3 separate regions of the Homo sapiens genome follow, and all the other regions are linked to region 2. The links are contacts of gene promoters, found by promoter capture Hi-C in blood cells and fetal thymus (Javierre and others, 2016). All regions are on one chromosome and are shown on one strand. The core of a region is centred on a gene start or on the middle of the fragment in contact, and the rest is flanking DNA. Distances in the headings are between cores, read along the strand shown. Region 1 holds the start of TSGA10 (testis specific 10). Region 2 holds the start of PDCL3 (phosducin like 3). Region 3 holds the start of REV1 (REV1 DNA directed polymerase).

What was found. Contacts are between HindIII fragments. The CHiCAGO score rates a contact against its expected background, and 5 or more counts as called.
Region 1: the fragment with the promoter of TSGA10 here is called in contact with the fragment with the promoter of PDCL3 in region 2 in 1 of 17 cell types (monocytes); the score reaches 5.6 in monocytes.
Region 3: a contact is called between the fragment with the promoter of REV1 here and the fragment with the promoter of PDCL3 in region 2, in 2 of 17 cell types (neutrophils and monocytes). The highest score is 8.3, in neutrophils.

The regions. Positions count from the first base shown.
Region 1 is chr2:99,153,655-99,156,354 of GRCh38, reverse strand. It overlaps TSGA10 (testis specific 10), which reads left to right and starts at 1,413. Exons shown (of 21, transcript NM_025244.4): 1 at 1,413-1,662. LIPT1 (lipoyltransferase 1) reads right to left here and starts at 1,388. Exons shown (of 2, transcript NM_145199.3): 1 at 1,304-1,388. RefSeq lists enhancers at 811-860, 891-970, 1,051-1,250, 1,281-1,510, 1,571-1,770 and 1 more. The HindIII fragment of the contact is 4,304 bases long and covers 1-2,700 here.
Region 2 is chr2:100,561,646-100,564,609 of GRCh38, reverse strand. It overlaps PDCL3 (phosducin like 3), which reads right to left and starts at 1,617. Exons shown (of 6, transcript NM_024065.5): 1 at 1,537-1,617. The coding sequence starts at 1,542. RefSeq lists a silencer at 1,291-1,630 and an enhancer at 2,076-2,872. The HindIII fragment of the contact is 6,473 bases long and covers 1-2,964 here.
Region 3 is chr2:99,488,359-99,491,315 of GRCh38, reverse strand. REV1 (REV1 DNA directed polymerase) reads left to right here and starts at 1,299. Exons shown (of 23, transcript NM_016316.4): 1 at 1,299-1,499. RefSeq lists an enhancer at 476-1,361 and silencers at 795-1,464, 1,575-1,674, 1,745-1,824. The HindIII fragment of the contact is 11,070 bases long and covers 1-2,957 here.

The DNA of each region.
Region 1 (2,700 bases), core at 164-2,663, 1.4 Mb after region 2:
GAGGTGGAGGTTTCAGTGGGCCGAGATGGGCTGGGCAACAGAGCGAGATTCAGTCTATTAAAAAAAAATGTAGAGCTGATAAAGGGAGGATTGTAACTGTGTATGTGAGAAAACTTACATTGCAATTTTAAATAGGGTTGTTAGGCTAAGCCTCATTAAAAAGGCATCATGTGAGAAAAGATGCAAGAAGCTGTTCTAAGCACCTGAACACGTAAACCAATAAACAGACCTCAGTGAGGATGTGACATTTCAGTTGAACCCCGAAAGATAAGAAAAAATCACACAGAGTGAGAAAAAGTGAAAACAAAGGGATGTCCAAAAATCCCTGACTGCCAGCTTATTGATTTACAAAGAGAACTATAGACCATCTATCAGATATTCAGATGAGCCTGTGCAATTATTCACTGTAGGTCTGGTGACAAGCCAACTCTTAAGTTTGCTTGGTGAATACATAATCAGAAAAGGACTGAGTTACATGATATGAACGTCTGACGGAATGGGCTCTGGGGAAGACACTTCCTTAACTCAGGAGAGCCCCTGCTCTTAAGCCGGGATACCCTCTCTCCCCTAGAGAAGGCGTGGATTCATCTGGCACAGGTGTGCCCCTCTTTTTTTATTCTATGCTCCAGTAGCGGATCAGACCCCGACTGAGTAATGCACGGTATTTCAGGATATTTCACAGTCGTTGGGATAGTGTCAAGCCTTTGAAGTTCTGGTTAAATTTTGTTCCTTCAAAATCACTTTGAATCTTTCTACTCTCACCCTTTAATGACTAATTTTTTGAAGTTTTTCCTCGGAAGACTTCCTTACCTTCCATGTTCTTGGGACACTTCGCTACCTCTGCACTGCCAAACACGGCTCCCCATCACTGAACTGAAAGCGAAAACAGCACAATCCCATCTATCTTTCTAGGCAGGCGCAGCTTCTTCATAAGACCTCGCCAAGACCCTATTATTTTGTCCCCTCTCTAATGATATACAACTTACTCAGAATCTCATTACGGTCGTGTGCATGTTTTACTTCGCCCTTTTGGCTCCCAGGGGGCGTGCACACAGCTAGCGTCCAACATGTTTTACGATATTTACCCTCCCTCCTGTGTTCGGGATCAACCGTTCCTAACAGTGAAATTAGGTCGTCCCAAGTGCTGAGGAGAAAGTGTGCACACAAGAGGCTTCAACACCGGCGGAGGCGACCCGCAAGTCCTGACCCACCGCCAGAAACACCGCGCGCGCCCAAGACCCCACGGCCGCCCACGCGCTACGGCCCGCAACATCCCGGTTTGAAGCGTTTCCGCTTCACCCACCTGCGGCTTCCGGTCGTACCCACGGCCTCGTGAGGGCTCGAGCTGGAAAAGTGCGTCATACGACCCCGAGCAACCGGCAGGCCTTGCGCGCGATGCTGCCCCGCCCCCTGAGGGCCGGCCCCCTGAAGCGCAAGAGAAGGAGGGGCGCGCAGGGATCGCGCCTAGTCTCTCCGCCTGCGGAGCCGTGGGGTCCCGGCAGCCCGCAGGAGTGCTAAGTAAGGGTCCTTCAGGGCGGGAACCAGGTTCCAGGCAGGGACGCAGGCTACGTTCGAATAAAAGTACCGAAGGTCATAAGGCCCCAGTTCAGATGGGACTTCCCCGCGTGACAGCACAGAGATAACGGCCAGCCCTGGGCGAAGGTAGGAGAGCGGGCGTGCCAGGTTGGAGGGGTCATTTCGTGGAGCGAGTTTAGGGGGAGCCCCCAGAAGCCCAGAGCAGTCAGGTCACACGACGGGCAGGAAGGAGTACCAGCAAATACTTTTTATTGAGCATACAGGTATTACGCTGGGTCTTTACATATCTCCTCCAAATAAGTGAGTCCAAATGGCAGGTAACTCGAAAGGTGAGAAATTCAAGTCAGCTTTGAAAGACACATTGCATTTAAAGGAAAAACGGTATTCGCAGATGATAATACAGGATGGAGTGGATCAGAAAACACACTGAGGCTACTGATCATTCCCATTTGCCAACTCACTGCAGTTGGCAAGAAAACTCTGTGACTCCATGAGATGGGAAATTACACCAGCAGTCAAGGTAGCAAGGTAATAGTTTCGGCTAAGTTTTGCTGCATAACAAACTGCCTCAAATAGTGGTTTATATCTCTAACGTGGGCAAGGTGGGTGATTCTTCTGCTAGTTTCTCCTGGGCATATTCATGTGGCTTCATTCAGCACAGGTTGGCTACGCTGGGCGGTCCAAGATAGCCTTATTCATGCTCTGGCAGGTGCTGCCTGGCTGCTAGGGCATCTCAATTCAGGCCTAATCTTGGAAGCAGCGCCTCAGCCATATTCTATTGGCCAAAACAACAACAAAGCCAGCCCAGAGTTAAGGCGTGGGGTAATGGACTTCACCTCTTGATGAAAGAAGCCCAAAGAATTTGTGGTCACCTTTTTCAACCTTGCACAGAAATTAATCTCTCCTTCAGTTAAAATAGAAACCACTAAGACTTGCCTCTTGGAGTAAGAATCATTCAGTGTTCAGTTTGCTGATGCTGATACGGTAAATGACCAGGGCTTCATATAAAGCTACAATGAAGACATAATGACACCTCCTTTCTTTATTATCACACCTTTTACCAAGGTCACTCTGAGTAAGTCTATCTTGTATTATGCAGGTGGGAATGAATTTTGTTCAGAGTTAACTGCACTAGGAATTTTCCTAGTTATTATTAAAAACAGT
Region 2 (2,964 bases), core at 368-2,867:
CAAAAGAAAAATGAGGCCGGGCGCGGTGGCTCATGCCGATAATCCCAGCACTTTGGAAGGCCTAGGCGGGCAGATCACCAGGTCAGGAGATCGAGACAATTCTGGCTAACATGGTGAAACCTTGTCTCTACTAAAAATACAAAAAATTACCCGGGAGTGGTGACGGGCGCCTGTAGTCCCAGCTACTCAGGAGGCTGAGGCAGGAGAATGGCGTGAACTGGAGAGGCGGAGCTTGCAGTGAGCCGAGGTCGCGCCACTGCACTCCAGCCTGGGCGACAGAGCAAGACTCTGTCTCAAAAAGAAACAAACAAACAAACAAACAAAAAGAGCAGAATCCTTTCTACAGGGTGGTCAGGGAAGGCCTCAAGGGACCTGAAGGACAGGGAATGCAAAGGAGGCCAGGGCAGCCCTCAAGCTACCACTTCACCATTTAAGAGTGTCTAGGCCAGGTGCGGTGGCTCATCCTGTAATCCCAACACTTTGGGAGGCTGAGGCTGGGCAACATAGGGAGACCCCATCTGCACAAAAAATTAGCCCAGAGTGGTGGGTGCACGCCTGTGGTCCCAGCTACTCCGGAGGCTGACAAGGGAGGATGGCTTAGCCCCGGGAGGTCGAGGTTGCAGTGAGCTGTGACAGAGCCACTGCACTCCAGCCTGGGCAACAGAGCAAGACCCGGTCTCAAAAAAAAAAAAAACAGTGTCTGGCTCCTGGCAGACACGCCCTCCCCTCCAGCCCCTAATGCCTCCCTCCCCAGCAAAACCCGCACCCTCTCCTCTCCATCTGCCACTAAGCAGAGATTAGAATTTCTGACCACTGCGGGATCTTTGGACAGTGACAAAATTTAGTTGGCATAGGTTTTCACCCACAATAGTGCCCATTTCCATGGTGTTTTCATTCATTCTCCTTAGGCTTTAACCAAATTCCGCTAGTAAATTGCAGCTACAGAAAAATAATTTATTTTACCTATTTTAATAAAAAAAAAAAAAAGGACGAAACAGAGGGACCCTCGCGGGGAGCTCTGGAACCCGAGCGGTCAGATAGGGAACACGCCCCAAGCGGATCCCAGGGCTCGGGGGAAGAGGGTGTAACTAAGCCCTCACCTGGCTCTCAGTGGAGCCAGGAACACCGGCTGTGGCGCTGCTTTACGTGCGGAAGACCCCAGGCCGGACCCTCCGCTTCCTAACACCTCTGCCCAGGTGTGCCTTAGGGGAGTTCAGGAGAGGAGGTAACTTTTGTTAGGCGGGATCCGGCAAGACCTTCACAGGCCCGGGTGGGTAGAGACCGCGAGAAGACATAGTCCCGGAGGACGAGGTTTGGGGGACCCGGCACACCGAGGCGGGGACGCCCAGGCCGTGGGTCCTGGTGGGACCACGCCCGCCTCCCGCACTGCGCCTGCGCAGGGCCTGGACGCGCCGGGCCTCCCTCGTGCCTGCGGCGCCGGAGCTTCCCCCAGGGCGGGCGTCCACTGCCCGCCCGGGCCTAACGAGACAAAGGAACGGGCCGCAGCCCCCAGACCCGAGACCCGTCCTAGCTCACCTGCATCTTGTTTCCAGTTCAGTTGCTCAAACCAGCTGTGCCGCAGCGCCCCCGCCCCTCAGCTCTCTTTTGTGCACGCGCACAGCGCCGCCACGCCTCTTCCCCCAGCCCAGCCTTCGCCCCGCCCAGGGACGAGCGGCGGGGAGTAAGGGCGGAAGCAACAGCCTTGAGTCTGCGCCTGCTCTTCAAGGAACTGGCACAGAAGCGTTCGCATGCGCCAGATAGGATCTGCCTACTGTCCTGCTCGGAGTGCACTTGACCTGGTTCTAATTCTGGTGGCTGCCTTATTAGGGCTGGTCTTCAGCGGAGGAGGGGTGGGGCTGGGTGGAGGAGGAGCCCGGGGCCGTGTGCCTTTTCCAGCTGCCGGCCCAAACCTGTAAAGACGTCTCGCTCTGACTAGCCTAACAAGTCAGAAATAGAAAATTGCCTCTAGGCCGGGCGCGGTGGCACACGCCTGTGATCCCAGGCCGAGGCGGGCGGATCACTTGAGGTCAGGAGTTCGAGATCAGCCTGGCCAACATGGTGAAACCCCGTCTCTACTAAAAATACAAAAAAATTAGCCGGGCGTAGTGGTGGTTGCCTGTAATCCCAGCTACTCTGGAGGCTGAGGCAGAAGAATTGCTTGAACGGGGGAGGCGGAGCTTGCAGTGAGCTGAGATCTCTCCACTGCACTCCAGCCTGGGTTACAGAGCGAGACTCCGTCTTAAATAAATAAATAAATAAAAATGATGCAGGGTCTTCTGGAATTCACCCACGATCACTTCAGCCTTGGAAAAGGCAACTCATTAATAAGACATTGAGAGCCTGCTGTGTACCAGGCACCATTCTAGGCTCTGCAGATGCAGCAGTGAGCAAAACACTAAAACAAAGGTGAAAGTCATCTGCCGTGCCTGAGTATCAGGAGACCCATGTATGCAGGCACACAGGCACTGAGCAAAAAGCAGCAATCTGACTTGTAAAATGCAGGTATTGGGCTCCAGAGCTTCTGCCCAGGCACACTCCAAGTTTAAGAGAGCAATATTCCTACCTGGTATGGAAGGAAGCATCTTGCACACGTGGGCTAACTTGCTGCCTCCTGGCAACTAAGCGGACACAGAGAGTAGAGACCCACACACCTGTGAGATAGGCGCAGGGCTTCCAACCGTGGCTATGCATTAGAATCACCTGGAAGCCCTCAAAAACTAGGAATGTCCTGGGGCTCCATCCCCAGACAAATTAAATCCTTGGAAATGAGGCCTAGCACAGATACTTTCTTAAAGATCCTCAGGTGATGCTAAAGTGCACAGTCGTTGATATAGAGTGAATCAAATGATTGCTTGAGAGCAAGGAGTTTTTATTTAATTTATAAGGATCCTTAAGATTTTTCTCACTCATTTCAACTGAATTACAGGCCCTTTTAGGGATTTATTAATGTATCTGGCAGCACAA
Region 3 (2,957 bases), core at 50-2,549, 1.1 Mb after region 2:
AAAACTTCGTCTCAAAAGAAAAGAAAAGAAAAGAAAGCAATTACGCAATTTGTTTTAAATTATGACGTCTTTGAAAAGTATGCAATCTAAATTCGTTGGATTAGCGACGAGAATACTGAAGTTGAAGTGCATTTATAGAAGTCTATAAAATGGCAAAAAACTGAAAGGGAAAGAAATGAGCTATTTGAGTATTCTCTGTGTTGCTAGTAAACAAGTTCCAACTCTGCAAATCAGTTTTCAAAAGAATACTGATTGTTTCCTAAGTACCTGCAAACTCTGAAGCATTTTAGGCAAGGGAATGAGTGGGAAAAAAGTATCTTCATGTTTGTGCATTACAACAATAAAGACTATTATGTAACAATGTGGAGTCTTCAAAGCGACCCTGCCAAGAGGGAGAAAGTGGTCCTTATGGACGGATTGTTTTCTGCTAGAAGGCCCTCAATTAGAATTGTACTTACGCATACATAATATAGGATATTATTTTTATATTCATAGAAAACTGCTTTCTCGGGTAACTCCAGCGCTGTACATGGGATGGGATACCGGCCCTCCGTTTACAAATACTCAGGCGCAATGCTGCCCGGGCACTCAAAGGACAGAAGATAGTGTCTGTGCCCTGCGGGAGCAGGCCACGAATCCCGAAAACGCCGTGGCGCAGTGCTCCTTCCCGCGAACCTGAGTGGGCCGTGGTTCTCGGTTGCTCTGGACATAGGAAAATGTCAGTTCATGTGTGTCCCTTTCTCCACTAGATGTCACTGTAAATCAATTGCTTAAGGAGGGAACCCGGGCGTCTGGCGCATCTTCACACAGTACCGGGGTTTGAAGCCCGGTCAGTGTCTGCACTTGTGTCCTTCCCCACTGGGGAGCCCCAAGGCGGGGCAGGCGCGGGGACTCGCTGTGCACGGAGCGGCGCGCTGTCCGAATGGCAACCGAAGAGCCGCGACCCGGTCAACGAAGCGCGGGGGTGACCGGAGCAGGACGGGCGGGCAGGCGGCGCAGTGCGTGGGCGGGCCCGCGCTGCGCTCCCCTCCGCCCAGCTAGCGAGACGGTCACGTGCCGCCCAGGCGCTGCCCCTTGCGGGCGGCTGCAGAACAACAGGGCGGGGCCGGGGAGGGGAGGAACACGGAGGCCGACGCCGGGCGCCGCGGTGCTACGCCCGAGGCTGGGGTCGCCCCGGGCCGGGGGGAGCAGAGCGCGTGCGCCGCGCGGCTGTGAGCGCGAGCGGGGCCGGGGAGCGCGCGCGGAACGCTAGGGGGCGTGGCTGCGGCGCGCGCGCTAACCGGAGGGGGAGGGGCGGAGAGCCACCGCGGAGCGCGCGCGGGGTTGGTTGCCGCGAGCGTGGGGGAGCGTGGACCGCGGCGCTGCTCAGCGGTGGGGCTGCCTTCCCCCGGCCCTCCTCCCTGGTCCCTGGCGAGGGCACTGGCGGCGGCGGGGCCGGGGTCCGCAAGGCCGGAGAAGGCCGCCGGGCCCGGGCATGGTGGTCTGGGGCAACGCGGAAGGTGAGCGACCCCCGGGCCGGCGGCGGGGTGGGGGAGGGGCGGGATCGGACACGCGTCGCCCGGAGGCGCCGCAGACCCGCCCGGCAGCGGCCAGAGCGCGGTCGGCCTGAGGTGGCGCGGGGGAGGGGTGCGTCGCCCCGGCCCCGGCCCGCGGCCGTCCTGTCGCGGCCTGGGCTGTCCACGGCGCCTTCCCCTGACGCTCGCAGCCGCCGGGTTATGTAATGTGTGACCTCCCCTCCCCTTCCCTTCCGTCATGGCGCGGCCGGCCCCGCGCCGCCGCCAGCCCCATGGGCCGCCCCGCGCCGACCCCTGGCGCAGCGGCCCTTCCCTCCGCGCCCGGCCGCATCCCGCCGGCCCGGTCAGACCGCGCCGCAAACTCCTTCCTCCTGCGCCGGCGCCTCGGCCGGCCATTCAGTTCCGCGCCATTCATTCACGCGCGCGTTCGGGCGTTCGTTCCACAAGCGTTTGTAGAATGTCGACCCGGTCGAGCCGCCGCTCCCACCCGCACTCCAGCCACAGCGTTTTTCCGCACCCCGCCTTCGACGTCCCCGGTGCATCCCAGAACCGGTCGGAATGTCCGAAGGCGGTTGTTGCTCCCTTGTTTTTCCTTGCTGCTTGTCCGTTCGCTAAATACGCTGGGCGCCGTTCCCCAACTGTCCTTCCGAGAGCCCCTTGCCCACTTCTGTACTGTTACAGTGACGCCGCTCTGGGCGCACCGAGCCGCGCTGTGTTTCGCTGCTCTTCCTACCTATTCTCAGTTTGTAAAGAAATAATCTCACATAACACTCCTTAATGTACTCCTCCGTAAGATAAATTGCAGATAATATACGTCTGCTAATTCTCTTTATCTCCACGTCTTCTCACGCCATGTACTAAGTAGAAATGGTTTCATTTAGGTGAAAATAATGCAGACTAGCACATAGCACAACAAGGGCTTGTAACTATTAAGGACTTTATGTAACAGTCTGTAATTCTGTGTATCTGTCTGGTCTTTCCGGACTTGGCACTTTAGTCTCCGAGAATAAGCCATTTCCTGTTTAGGTAGGGTAGGACCAACCATAACCTTGGTTCTTTCTATGGAGTTCTGTATGTAGCAAATCAGCCTGTGGGAACCATCTATCTGTCCACCAACCTTTCACACATATTCTTGGGTTTGCCCGTGCAGGGACCAGTGCTGCGTATTGTTCCCTGCCTTCCTGTACTGGACACTTAAGAGCTCACCTAAAGTTCCTCTTCCAGGAATCATTCTCCAGTATACAAGGCTCTCTTCCATTCAATTCTTAGGCTATTTGCGCCTTTTCCTGTGTTGCGTTTATCTTTTTAGCCCTGTCTTCTCTTACTGTGTAGGACCTTTTGAGGGTAGAGTCTGTACCAAACTCCTATCTTTTGTTGTAGAACCTTAACCGCTATTTTACGGTAAACCGTACATATTTAATTTTTTTTGTAAAGATGGGAATT